Linked DNA regions of Homo sapiens: all the other regions are linked to region 1. Evidence: promoter capture Hi-C in 16 types of primary human blood cells and fetal thymus (Javierre and others, 2016). All regions are on one chromosome and are shown on one strand. The core of a region is centred on a gene start or on the middle of the fragment in contact, and the rest is flanking DNA. Distances in the headings are between cores, read along the strand shown.

Region 1 (3,195 bases), core at 157-2,656:
CTTGGCTGCTTCTATTCATTCACGCATACATACATTTTACTGTCAGGAGCACCTTCTATATGCCAAACACTAAGCTACGTGTTTCACGTAGGTCATTTCACAGGATCCTGAAAACAACGCTTTCCTTAATATCTCCATTTTGCAGAAGAGGAAAGGGAGGCTCACAGGATGTGGAACTCACCCAAGAAGGCACAGCGAGTTGGTCATAAAGATTTGAATTCACTCTGGCTGGCACTCCCTTCAATTGGAGCTCTTTGTACTGAGCAAAAATGCCTCAGGGGCAGCAGGGAAGGGAATGACAGTATCAGCAGAAGGGAGCCAGGATCAGGACAGGGAGGAAGCAGTGTTTGGAAGAAGGGTGCTGGGGACAGGGTGCGGATGTAACTTCCCTTTCCAAGGTTGGTGATGTGGGGTAGGCACCTCATTTGGAGACAGAACTCTGGGCCTGGGCTTCAGGCACTTTAAGTGTGCACTGGACTTTGTGTTCCCAGAGGACCCCCAAACCTTCCAGTATCTCCTTCCTTTCCCCTTTCCCACCCAGCACACAGCCTGGTGCCTAGTGTGCACTCAGTAGACAACTGGGATATGACTATTGCCTCTGGTAGTCACATCCTCTCTTTGGGCTATGGGAGGCTGGACTGGAGGCCTTAAAGGCCCCTTCCGCCCTCCTGTTGGGCAGTTTTTCTTTCTTAGGGAAATCGCCTTGGGGCTATCGGGGATGGTCAGTACGCAGCTTGGTTAATCCTCTTTCCTTCCCCAGCAGCCCCACCGTCGTCCGGGTGAAAAGAAAGAACCTCGCTCCCTTCACCATCCAGGCTGAGGCTTCAGTCTTTCAGCCTGCAGCTTGGGGTGGAAGCCTCTGGGTGCAGGGGTTCGAGGACGCTCCTCTCCTTCTGTATTTGCCATTTGAGAGCGCCCAGTAGGAGTCATGCCTCAATGTTAGGAGGTTAATGCCAAACGCAGTGAAAGATTTTGTTCTTTCCTATTCTAGATAAGAGCAACACGAGTCTTCGGAGAGGTTAAGCGACTTCCTCAGGGTCTCGCAGTCAGCCGGTAGCAGAGACCGGGTGTACAGCACCCGCATGTTAGGACCAAAAGCCGGACACTGCTGGATTGACCCCTCGCGGCCAAGCGGGGAAGAGGCATTTAGGGGTCCTTGCGCAGCCGCGTGGCCCCTCCCACTCGGCCCTCGATCCACCCTCCTTGAGAGCAGGCAGGATTCTAGCATCACCCAGTGCCTTCATCAAGAGTCTTTAACCCCAAGCCCGCTCGCTAGCGACCTCCAGGCCGGTTTGGGGCGCGGTGTGGCCGGTGGCGAGAGGTGGAGTGGGGGCGGAGACCGACCCAGTCTTCGCAACTCTATTTGCATACGGAGGCGACTCGCTTCCTTCCCGCCCCTCCGCCGCGCTCTTCTTCCTTCCTTCTCCAGTCCCTTCCACTGTGCGTCTTCTGTCCCCCGTTCTTCCCCAGCGGACCCCTCTTTCGAGACTCCCTAGTGGGGTCCCCAGCTCCCGGGCGATCCTGCCCTTGCCGAGCGCGTTTTCTGGAGTCACCTGGGGGAGGGGAGTCCTGGGCAGGGCCGGGCTGGGGAAGACGCCTGGGGCACTGCCCGGCGTTAACAAAGGGAGCCGATACCGACCGGCGTGGGCGCGGAGCGGGCGGCCGCCACCGAGCGTGCTGAGCAACCGCAGCCTCCGCGGCCGAGAGTGCAGCGAGTGAGTAGGGGGTGCGGTGGGCGGCGGCGCGGCCCGGGCTATCCCGGGAGGAGTGTGATGCAAAGGGGCGCGGGAGGATAGCGGAGGCGCGGGGCCCGCGGCGCGCGTAGGGCGCAGGGAATCTCTCTCCAGCTCCGCCTCAGCTGCCTTGGCTCCGGGGCTGGCCGCCTTTTGGTTGGGGGTGTGTGCATTTTTGTCAGGGCCAAAGGGCCACCCTGGCTTCTCTCTGGCTCCGCGAGCCTGCGGATCCACAACAAACCCACGTGCGCACAGCCCCGGGGAACACGGATTTCTCCACGGCACCGTCAGTATGGGGTGGGGTGGCGTGGGGGCATTGCGCCTTGCAGAGTCTGGGTTTACGGATCGACAAATTGAGGCCCGCGGCAGCGGAGGGGGCACAGGCACCATAACAAACGCACGTGCGCCCTGCCCGGAGAGCTGGACGCACTGCATACCCTTAGGGGCCGCCCTGCGGTGCCGGGCCATTGTCTCAGCCTCGGGGGAGGGAGTGGCTCTAGAGGCGCCACTTGCTGGAAGAGGGCGAGAGAGACATTTAAAAGGTACCGCTTGGGCATCAGACTAAACTGCCAGACTTAAAAAGGGAAACCAAAACAAGAAAGCAGCTACAAAAAGGTTACTCCAGGCTGAGTCGGTCCCCGGCCGTGGCGCATTCTTTTGGGTGAAGTGGACCACCCCTCACCTTCACCTCCTGGAGGTCTCTTAGAGATGTGGGTTGGGTTAAGGGTCTAAGGGTGCCCCTCAAAAAAAGAGAGTGCTGGGTGCACTATTGTCCCCGCACTCCGGCGATTGCCTCTGTGGGGATATTTTGGTCGCCTCCTCAGCCTGCGGGAAGAATGTACGAGTCGCCCAGTGCGGTCTTGCTCTTTGCCTCTGAGGCCCGTGTCCGTGTGCCCAGACACCCCAGATGTCACTAGCCCCTTTTGGCTTGTTAATGCATTTTCGCAAGCAAGGCCAGCCGAGACCTCGTATTCTAGCTGGGGACGTACAATTTTCAGTTCTGAGTTTATTTGAAAGAAATTCCGAGGTCCGGAAAAAGAGAACTCTTGTTTGTTTTGCTTTTTCTTTGCTTACATATGCTCAGCTCAGCTTTGCAGATGTTAATCGGACACGATCTGCAGCGGGGAGATGGTTTCGCGGTGAATTGGTCTCTGAGGCGATGGTGTTGGTGCAGGTTGTGGGCGTGCAGTGTGAGCAGGAATGGAGGCGCCGCCGCCCCAGTGTGTGCCTGCTGAGCGGGCGGGCTGCTGCCTCACCTTGGCTAGTGTGGCTGAAGATTAACCTGTCCCCGGGGGGGGAACTGGAGAGCCTCCAATCCTATTCCGCTGTTATTGAAAAGGTCTAGAGAGCATCTAGGGAGCCTTCTCATTTTACAGGCAGGAAGCTGAGGCCGGAGAGTTCAGCCACTTGTCCAAGTTTAAACCGGGTGAAACGGGCCACAGAGAGAACACTTGAGTGTGGG
Region 2 (3,115 bases), core at 153-2,652, 160 kb after region 1:
ACAAGTGGGCTGGCATGGGGAAGCATGAGCTGGAGCCTCACAAGGACAGGCTGAAACTCTTGTCCATTCTTGTTGCCTCTGATGTTGGTGATGAGGGTATCCTGCAGAAGCCAGGGCGCTTTGTCACAGAACTAAACACATACATGGTCCCAAAGTCAGAAAAACTGGTGAATCCAAGGGTAGGTAGTAGAGCAACTGTAGGCCCAGATGCTGCTTCAAAGTAGCTGCTGCCTTTTTCCCACCGTCTAAAGTCCCTTGTTGCTAACTCTGATAGGAAACATACAGGAAGTAGAATTCTTGGACAGTTTAGACTGGCCAAGTACAACATTACAAATCCATCACTTAAATCACAGACTTTTTTTTTTTTTTTTTTTCAGACAGGATCCGGCTCTGTTGCTCAGGATGGAGTGCAGTGGTGCAATCTCAGTTCGCTGCAACCTCCACCTCCTGGGCTCAAGAAATCCTCCCACCTCAGCCTCCTGAGTAGCTGGGATGACAGGTGCACACCACTCTGCCCGGATACTTTTTGTATTTTTTGTAGAGACAAGGGTCTCATTATGTTGCCCAGGCTGGATGACAGGTGCACACCACTATGCCCGGATACTTTTTGTATTTTTTGTAGAGACAAGGGTCTCATTATGTTGCCCAGGCTGGTCCTGAACTCCTGAGCTGAAGCAATCCACCTGCCTCGGCCTCTCAAAGTGCTAGGATTTCAGGCATGAGCCATTGTGCCGGCCCACATACTCTTTTTTTTTTTTTTTGTCCAGCTTCTTTTACTCAGCATAATGTTTTGAGATTCATCCATACTGTAGTGTATATTAATAGCTTATTCCTCTTATTGCTGAGTAGTATTCCACTTTGTGGATATACCATATTTGTATAACAGTTATCTTTGTTGTTGAACATTTGGATTGTTTTCTAGTTTGGGGATATTATAAATAAAGTTGCTATGACCATTTGTATACAAGTCTTTTATTTCTGCTGGGTGACTTGTAGGAGTGAAATGGTTGAGTCATATTATAGGCATTTAGTTAATTTTTAAAGAAACTGCCATATTGTTTCCTAAAGTGGTTGTACTATTTTAAATTTCCACCGGCAGTGCATAAAAATTTTAATTCTGCCACATTATGGCTAACCTTAGTTTAAGTCTTTTTAATTTTAGACATCATAATCGGTGTGTTATCTTATTTTGGTTTTAATTTGCATTTCCCTAATGGCATATAATGTTCATCATCTTTTCATGTGCTTATTTCCTATCCATTTTCTTTGATGAAGAATCTTTTCAAATAATTTGTCCATCTCTTAATGGACAATGATTGTTTATTGTTATATTATTGAGTTTTTAAGAATTTATATATTTATGTATAAATTTATATAAATTATTTATATATTATATTTATATATTCTAGATACAAGTCTTTTATCAGGACTTGTGATTTGTAAACATTTTCTCTCAATCTGTGGTCTGTTTTTTTCATTCTCTTAAAAATGCCTCTAAAAAACAAATTTTAAATTTTGATGAAGTCCAATTTATCTTCTATTGATCATGTTTTTGGTGTCATAACTAAGATGTTTTGGCCTAACCCCAAGGTTATAAAGATTTCTTTTAAAAGTGTTACAGTTTTAGTTACATTTAGGTCTATGATCCTAATTTTTTTTGTATTGGTGCAATGTATGGAAGAAAGTTGGGGTTTTTGCACATGGATATTCAATTGTTCCAGTACAACATGTTGAAAAGAATATGCTGCCTCCACTGAATAGCTTTTGCACTTTTGTAAAAAAAAAAAAAAAAAAAAAAAAAATCAATTGACCGTATATGTGTGGATTTACTTCTGGACTTTGCTCTGTTCCATTGGTCTATTTGCCTATCTGGATGCTAGTTACACACTGTTATGATTATTGTAGCTTTAAATTTCTTTAAATTTTTTTTGGTGGGGGGTATAGCCGGGCACGGTAGTACATGCCTGTAGCTCCAGGTACTTGGGAGGCTGAGGCAGGAGGATCACTTGAGCCCAGGAAGTTCAAGGATATCTTGAGCAACATAGCAAAACCCTGTATCAAAGAACAACAACAACAACAAAAATTGGGAGGGTGAGGGTATCTTTGGTCCTTTTACATTTCCACGTAAGTTTTAGAAATAGCTTGCCAGCATCTACAAAAAAAAGCCTGCTAGATTTTGACTGAGATTGCATTAAATCTATGGATCAATTCAGGAAAAATTGACATCTTAACAATAGTAAGTCTTCTAGTTCGTGAGTGCAGTATATTTCTGCACTTATTTAGGTTTTCTTTAATTTCTCTCAGAAATGCTTTGTAGATTCTAGTTTATGAGTCTTGCACATCTTTTGTCAGATTTATCCCCCTAAGTATTTCATATTTTTGATGCTGCTGTAAATGTTTGTTTTTAATTTCAATGTCTGAATGTTTGTAGCTAGTATATAGACATACAGTTGACTTTTGTATCTTGATTTTGTGTTTAGTGATCTTGCTAAATTTAGTTCTAGGGGCTTTTTTTGTAAATTCTTTGGTTTTTTCTTTTTTTTTTTTAAATAGGTAGTCATTTCATCTGCAAAAAAAGACAGTTTCTTCTTGCATTGTTTCTGGTGAAAAATCTGCTGCCATCCTTTTCTTTGTTCCTCTGTATGTAATGTGTCTTTTTTTTTTTTTTTTTTTGAGACGGAGTCTCGCTCTTTCGCCAGGCTGGAGTGCAGTGGCACGATCTCACCTCACTGCAACCTCCGCCTCCCGGGTTCAGGTGATTCTCCTGCCTCAGCCTCCCGAGTAGCTGGGACCACAGGCACCCGCCACCACGTGCGGCTACCGTAATGTGTCTTTTTAAAAATTTACTTTTACTTATATTATTTTTAATTGACAAATCATAATTGTATTACATGTATGGAATACAATATGATGTATACACATACACATACATGTGGAGTGATTAAGTCAAGCTAATTAACATATTCACCACCTCAATTATTTGACATTTTTTGTGGCAATACATTTGAAATTTACTTTCTTAGTTATTTTGAAATATACAACATATTATTGAATATAGCCAGCCTGGTGTCCAATAGATCTCAAATCTTGTTCCTGCCGTCTAGCTGAAACTTCA
Region 3 (3,485 bases), core at 88-2,587, 210 kb after region 1:
TCCACAGGCTGTATAAGAAGCATGGTGCCCACATCTACATCTAGTGAGAGCCTCAAACTGCTTTCACTCATGGTGCAAGGGAAAGGGGAGCAACTTGTGCAGAGATCACATGGCAAAAGACGCAAGAGAGAGTAGAGAGGGAGGCTCTTTTTAAATATCAGCTCTCAAGGTGTATTAGTCCATTTTTACACTGCTAATAGAGACATACTGGAGACTGGGTAATTTGTAAAGGAAAGCAGTTTAGTTGACTCACAGTTCTCCATGGCTGGGGAGGCCACACAAAATTTACAATCATGGTGGAAGAGGGAGCAAACATGTTCTTCTTCACATGGCAGCAGCAAGGAGAAGTGCTGAGCAAAAGGGGGAAAAACCCCATATAAAACTATCAGACCTCATGAGAACTCAATCGCTATAACAAGAACAGCATGAGGGTTAACTGCCCCATGATTAAATTATCTCCCACTGGGTCCCTCCCACAACATGGGGATTATGGGAACTACAATTCACGATGAGATTTGAGTTGGGCACAGCCAAACCATATCACGAAAGCACTAAGAGTGCGAAGTCACCATCCCCCAGAGAGGGCATTAATATATTCACGAGGGATCCACCTTAAACCTCAGGACCCAAATATTTCCCATCAGGCCCCACCTCTAACATTAGGGATCAAATTTCAATATGCAGTTTGGGGGACGAACGTCCAAAGTATAGCAATCAGCCTTTTAAAACTTACCCTTTTCATTTTGAGATAATTGCAGATTTACCTGCAGTTGTAAGAAGTAGTATAGGGGCTGAGTGTGGTGGCTTATGCTTATAAACCCAGTGCTTTGGGGGGCCAAGGTGGGAGGATCTCTTGAGCCCAGGAGTTTAAGACAGTCTGGGTCATACAGCAAGACCCTGATCTACAAAAAATTGAAAGTTAACCAGGCATGGTGGTGTGCATCTGTAATCCAGCTACTTGGGAGGCTGAGGCGGGAGGGTGGCTTGAGTCCAGGAATTTGAGGCAGCAGTGAGCTACAATCACATCACTGCACTCCAGCTTGGTTGGCAGAGTGAGACCCTGTCTCTAAAAAAAGAAAGAAAGAGAAATAGTTCAGAGATTCTTTGTGCCCTTTGCCCAGTTTCTCCAAAAGGTAAAATCTTGCAAAACTCTACAATAATATTACTATCAGGATATTGGCATTGTTACAGTCAAGATACAGAACTCTTCCATCACCATAAGAATCCCTCATGGTGCTCTTTAATAGGCACAGCAACTTTCCACCTGCTTCCACTCCTCCCATATGCCATTAGTTCTCCATTTTTATAAACTTGTCCTTTCAAGATCGCAATATAAAGGAGAACTATAGCATGTAACCTTTTGGGATTGGCATTTTTTTTTGCTCAGCATAATTCTCTGGAGATTCATCCAGTTTATTGCCTGTATCAGTAGTTTGTGTCTTTTTATTGCTGAATAATATTCCATAATATCCACAGTGTATTTAACCATTATCAGTTGAAGAACATCTGGGCTAATTATGAATAAAGTTGCTATAAAATTTGTGTCTAGGTTTTTGTGTGAACATGAGTCTTTATTTCTTTGAGACAAATGCCCAGAAGTGTAATTCCTAAGCCATATGGTAGTTGCATGCTTAATTTTTCAGAATCTGACAAACTGATTTCCAGAATGGCCATATCATTTTTTTCCCACTAGTAAACTATGAGTGATTCTTTGCATCCTCACCAGAATTTGATGTTGTCACTTCTTTGTTTTAGTAATCTTGCTAGGTATATATCAATATATCATTGTAGTTTTAATTTGCATTTCCCTAATGGCTAATGATATAGAACATCTTTTTTCATTTGCCAATTTGCAATCTTGTGTATCCTCTTCAGTAAAATCTCTTTTCATTACCATGTTTGTTTCCTTTTACTATTGAATTTTGAGAGCTCTTTATATATTCAAAATGCTAGGCCTTTGTCAGATATGTGTTTTACAGATATTTTCTCCCATTCTGTAGCTTGTCTTTTCATTCTCTTAACAGGGTCTGTCACAGAGCAAAAGTTTTTAACGGGTGAAGTTACATTTATCAACTTTTCTCTTACGAGTGATGTTTTTAGTGTTAAGACTCTTTGTCTAGCTCTAGCTCTTAAAGATTTTCTCTTTTTTTCCTAAAAGTATTATAGTTTGATATTTTACATTTAAGTCTGTGATCCATTTTTAGTTAATTGTTATATAAGGTATGAGTACTTTTTTGCCTGCTTTATTAGTCTATTCTCACACTGCTATAAAGATACTACCTGAGACTGGGTAATTTATAAAGAAAGGAGGTTTAACTGACTCACAGTTCCACATGGCTGAGGAGGCCTCAGGAAACTTACAATCATAGCAGAGGGCAAAGGGAAAGCAAGTACCTTCTTCACAAGGTGAAGACAGGCAAGAGAGAGAGAGCTCAGGGAAATTGCCAGACTTATCAAACAACCAGATCTCAGGTAAAAACACTTACTATCATGAGAACAGCATTGGAGAAACCACCCCCATGAGAAATCACTCACTATCATGAGAACAGCGTAGAGGAAACTGCCCCCATGATCCAATCACCTCCCACCAGGTCCCTCCCTCAACGTGTGGGGATTACAATTCAAGATGAGATTTGGGTGGGGACACAGACCCAGACCATATCATTCCACCCTGGCCCCTCCCAAATTTCATGTTCTTTTCATATTTCAAAACCAGTCATGCCTTCCCAACAGTTCCCCAAATTCTTAACTCATTCAATCATTAACTCAAAAGTCCAAGTCCAAACTCTCATCTGAGACAAGGCAACTCCCTTCCACCAATAAGCCTGTAAAATCAAAAGCAAGTTAGTACTTCCAAGGTACATGGGGGTACAGGTATTTGATAAATGTTCCCATTCCAAATGGGAGAAATCGTCCAAAACAAAGGGGCTACAGGCCCCATGCAAGTCCAAAATCCAAACAGGGCAGTCATTAAATCTTAAAGCTTCATGATGATCTCCTTTAACTCCATATTTCCCATCCAGGTCATGCTGATGCAAAATATAGGCTCCCGAGGCCTTTGGCAGCTCCACCTCTGTGACACTGCAGGATACAGCCCCCATGGCTGCTTTCACGGGCTGGTGTTAAGTGTCTGCAGCTATTCCGGGCACAAGGTGCAAGCTGTGGATGGCTCTATCATTCTGGGGTCTGAGGTGGCCCTCTTCTCACAGCTGCACTAGGCAGTGCACCAGTGGGGACTCTGTGTGGGGGCTCCAACCCCACATTTCCCCTCTGCATTGCCCTAGTAGAGGTTCTCCATGAGGGCTCCACCCCTGAAGCAGGCTTCTGCCTGGACATGCAGGTGTTTCCATACATCCTCTGAAATCTAGGCAGAGGCTGCCAAGATTTCAACTTGGCAGCCTCAACTCTTGTCTTCTGTGCACCCGCAAGCCCAACACCACATGGAAGCTGGCAAGGCTTGGGGCCTGCACCCTCTGAAACATGGC
Region 4 (3,083 bases), core at 409-2,908, 240 kb after region 1:
GCGCCACTGCACTCCAGCCTGGGTGACAGAGCAAGACTCCATCTCAAAAAATGAAACAAACAAACAAACAAACAAAACTTACACACAGTAAGAAATTAACAATAATAAAATAGAACAATGATTAGATATACTGTAATAAAAATTATGTAAATGTGGTCTCTCTTTCTCAAAATATCTTATTGCTCTGTGTTCACCTATTTTCAAACCATGGTTGACCATGAGTAACTGAAACCATGGATAGCAAAACCTTGGATAAGGGGGGAGCTCATGTACTAAGCACCCCAGAAGGATGTGCAGACCACCTCTGCCTTTGGTTTATGTGGAATGTCACCCCCAGCAAAACCCATCTTGTGCTAACAACACACAGTTATGGTGTTTCTGTAAGAAACCTTAACTTGTCCTGAGAATTTGAAGAGGAATCCTTCCGCTTCCAGAGATCTTTGTTATTCGCTCTCATGACCTATCTATCTTGGCATGATGTGATGGTTGTATGAATGCCAGCAAATCACTATAGACTCTAAGTTCACTGACAGCAGAGTCTGCCTTCTTTGTAAATAAATACTTTACTCTTACCACACATACTGAAATATAGTAGAGTTCAACAAATGTTTCTTAAATGATGAGGGGTCTTTTGGTCTTATATAGTTCAGGTGGTTGGGGTATGGAGTAAAGGATTTAAATATTTGGCCAATCAAATTAAAAAGGGAAGCTGTCCTGGATTTGTTTTAAGTGATGATCCAGGGCAGAGGATTTGCTCAGGACTTAGCAGTAGAATGATGCTCTACCTGAAAAGCTTGTTTGTTTTTGCTGAGTAGGTACTGAGCACTTTCTCACTATTTTTCTCTCCCTTCTCACATTGGTAGCTGCAAACATAGAGCTTGTTTTGTGGTACTCCTATAACACATGTATACATCTATGCCCCAAATCCAGTCCTGGATCCATCTTATTTACAGTTTTATTCCCTTTTACCTTCTGCTTTTGTTTTTACTATTAAAATTTTTTTTAAATTTCAAATTTCCAAATGCAACTCCTTGAAATTCTTCATAATCATTCTTCATAATTCCTCATAATTCTTCAAAAAGAATTCCTTAAAATCATCTAATTTAGTACATAATTAAGTTGTCTGTGTTATCTCAAACATGCCTTTTTATAGTTGATTTGATTCAGTCAGAAAGTTCACATATCACATCGGGTTGTGCGTCTCAATTCTTTTTAACTTTATAGCAGTCCTCCTTCCCCCTCTTCTTCTTTACCATTTATTTATTTGGAAAAAAAATCATGTATCTTGTAGAATTGCTCACATTTTGGACTTTGGTGATACATTCTTGTGGTTTTTGTCTGAGACGTTTCCTCATACTTCGTATTTCCTCTAGACTATCTACAGGCCTGATCAGGTATGTTTTTTTTTTTTTTTTTTTTGGAAGTCTCACTCTGTCACCCAGGCTGGAGTGCAGTGGCACGATCTAGGCTCACTGCAACCTCTGCCTCCCGGGTTCAAGCGATTCTCCTGCCTCAGGCTCCTGAGTAGCTGGGATTACAGGCACGCGCCACCATGCCCAGCTAAATTTTGTATTTTTAGTAGAGACAGGGTTTCATCATGTTGGTCAGGCTGTTCTCGAACTTCTGACCTCGTGATACACCCACTTTGGCTTCTCAAAGTGCTGGGATTATAGGCGTGAGCCACCGCACCCAGCCAGATTTGGATTTTTTAATGTGACTATTTCAGTGCTAGTGTTGGACTGTTCCTGCAGCGTTATATTAGGAGACACGTGATGTCTGATTGCCTTTCTTTTCTTAATTGATCAGTAAGATCAGATGGTGTCAGCCTGACCCATCCACTATAAAGTTCCCCACAACATCTTAATTAATGAGTTTAGCAGATTTAGATTTTTTTCTTTATCATTATTTCATTAGGACTGCAAAATAGTGATATTCTGATCCTATTGTTCCCTTTTATTTTTTATTTATTTACTTTTTGAGATAGAGTCTTGCTCTGTCACCCAGGCTGGAGTTCAGTGGCGCAATCTCAGCTCACTGCAACCCCCACCACCTGGGTTCAAGTAATTCTCATGCCTCAGCTTCGCGAGTAGCTGGGATTACCAGTGTGCTCCACCAGGCCCAGCTGATTTTTTTGTATTTTTAGTAGAGATGGGGTTTCACCACATTGGACAGGCTGGTCTCAAACTCCTGACCTCAAGTGATCTCCCTACTTGGCCTCCCAAAGTGCTGAGATTACAGGTGTGAACCACTGCGCCTCGGCCCCTTTTCTTTTATTAATTGTAATTCTTCTCTAAAGAATAGCTTCCCCTCAACTATTATTTGGTTATCACAAAATGCAGATTACATAAGGAAGCCAAGATAAATATGTAATATTTTTCCCTTGCCTATTTTTGAAATAAATAGTTGGTTTTTTTTATTTAAAATATCATTATTAATTTATGGATTTTTAGCATATTTGATGTACTTCAATGAATTGTGGCCATTATTCTTTTTGATGATCCAATTATTTTGTTTTTGGCCAGTGAAAGCTTCTTCAGGTTAGTTTCATTTGCCTTTTGTCTTTTGACATGACAATAGGAATTTTTGAAATCTGGTACAAGAAAATATTCCAGGCTCATTTTATACATTTATTGACTTATATCTGAAGGAATTATTTTTCCAGAAAGTTCTGATCACTTTTGGTGATCCAGGTGCTGAGAGGTACTTGTTGCTAATGGATTGATGATTTATTTCTTTCAGGTCTGTGTAATAGACAAAGTTAGGAAGTTCATAATTTTTATGGGCAATACAATTTCATTATGATATAATACTTATATTTCCAATTCAAATTCAGATAATAGGAATTTTTATTTACCATCTTAGATTTTATGTATTTCCAATCTCTTTTTGATTACCATAAAAATCTTGGTTCCCAGTAACATTAATAGAAGCACTAATACAATGTGTTACTTACCCTATTAAAATAAAAATAATAACACTGTAATTACTCCCCATCCCCACACTTCAGCCTCCATGAGATATATGGAAACAGTCAAATTATTATGTTTTAAAGTCATTTGAAATAATTCACCATTGAGTAAGCC

Evidence for each region. Contacts are between HindIII fragments. The CHiCAGO score rates a contact against its expected background, and 5 or more counts as called.
Region 2: a contact is called between a fragment that was not itself captured here and the fragment with the promoter of ST6GAL1 in region 1, in 1 of 17 cell types (non-activated CD4 T cells). The highest score is 6.1, in non-activated CD4 T cells.
Region 3: a contact is called between a fragment that was not itself captured here and the fragment with the promoter of ST6GAL1 in region 1, in 1 of 17 cell types (non-activated CD4 T cells). The highest score is 5.3, in non-activated CD4 T cells.
Region 4: a fragment that was not itself captured here is called in contact with the fragment with the promoter of ST6GAL1 in region 1 in 8 of 17 cell types (non-activated CD4 T cells, total CD4 T cells, naive CD4 T cells and 5 more); the score reaches 7.7 in non-activated CD4 T cells.

Annotation. Positions count from the first base shown.
Region 1 is chr3:186,929,120-186,932,314 of GRCh38, forward strand. ST6GAL1 (ST6 beta-galactoside alpha-2,6-sialyltransferase 1) reads left to right here and starts at 1,407. Exons shown (of 8, transcript NM_173216.2): 1 at 1,407-1,715. RefSeq lists an enhancer at 1,022-1,630 and silencers at 1,318-1,397, 1,638-1,827. The HindIII fragment of the contact is 4,226 bases long and covers 1-3,195 here.
Region 2 is chr3:187,085,175-187,088,289 of GRCh38, forward strand. No RefSeq gene overlaps it. Among named protein-coding and RNA genes, the nearest start is that of RPL39L, 53 kb to the right of the region's middle. The HindIII fragment of the contact is 5,150 bases long and covers 1-3,115 here.
Region 3 is chr3:187,142,043-187,145,527 of GRCh38, forward strand. No RefSeq gene overlaps it. Among named protein-coding and RNA genes, the nearest start is that of RPL39L, 4.3 kb to the left of the region's middle. The HindIII fragment of the contact is 3,288 bases long and covers 1-2,981 here.
Region 4 is chr3:187,168,965-187,172,047 of GRCh38, forward strand. No RefSeq gene overlaps it. Among named protein-coding and RNA genes, the nearest start is that of RTP1, 27 kb to the right of the region's middle. RefSeq lists an enhancer at 1,879-2,380. The HindIII fragment of the contact is 1,735 bases long and covers 792-2,526 here.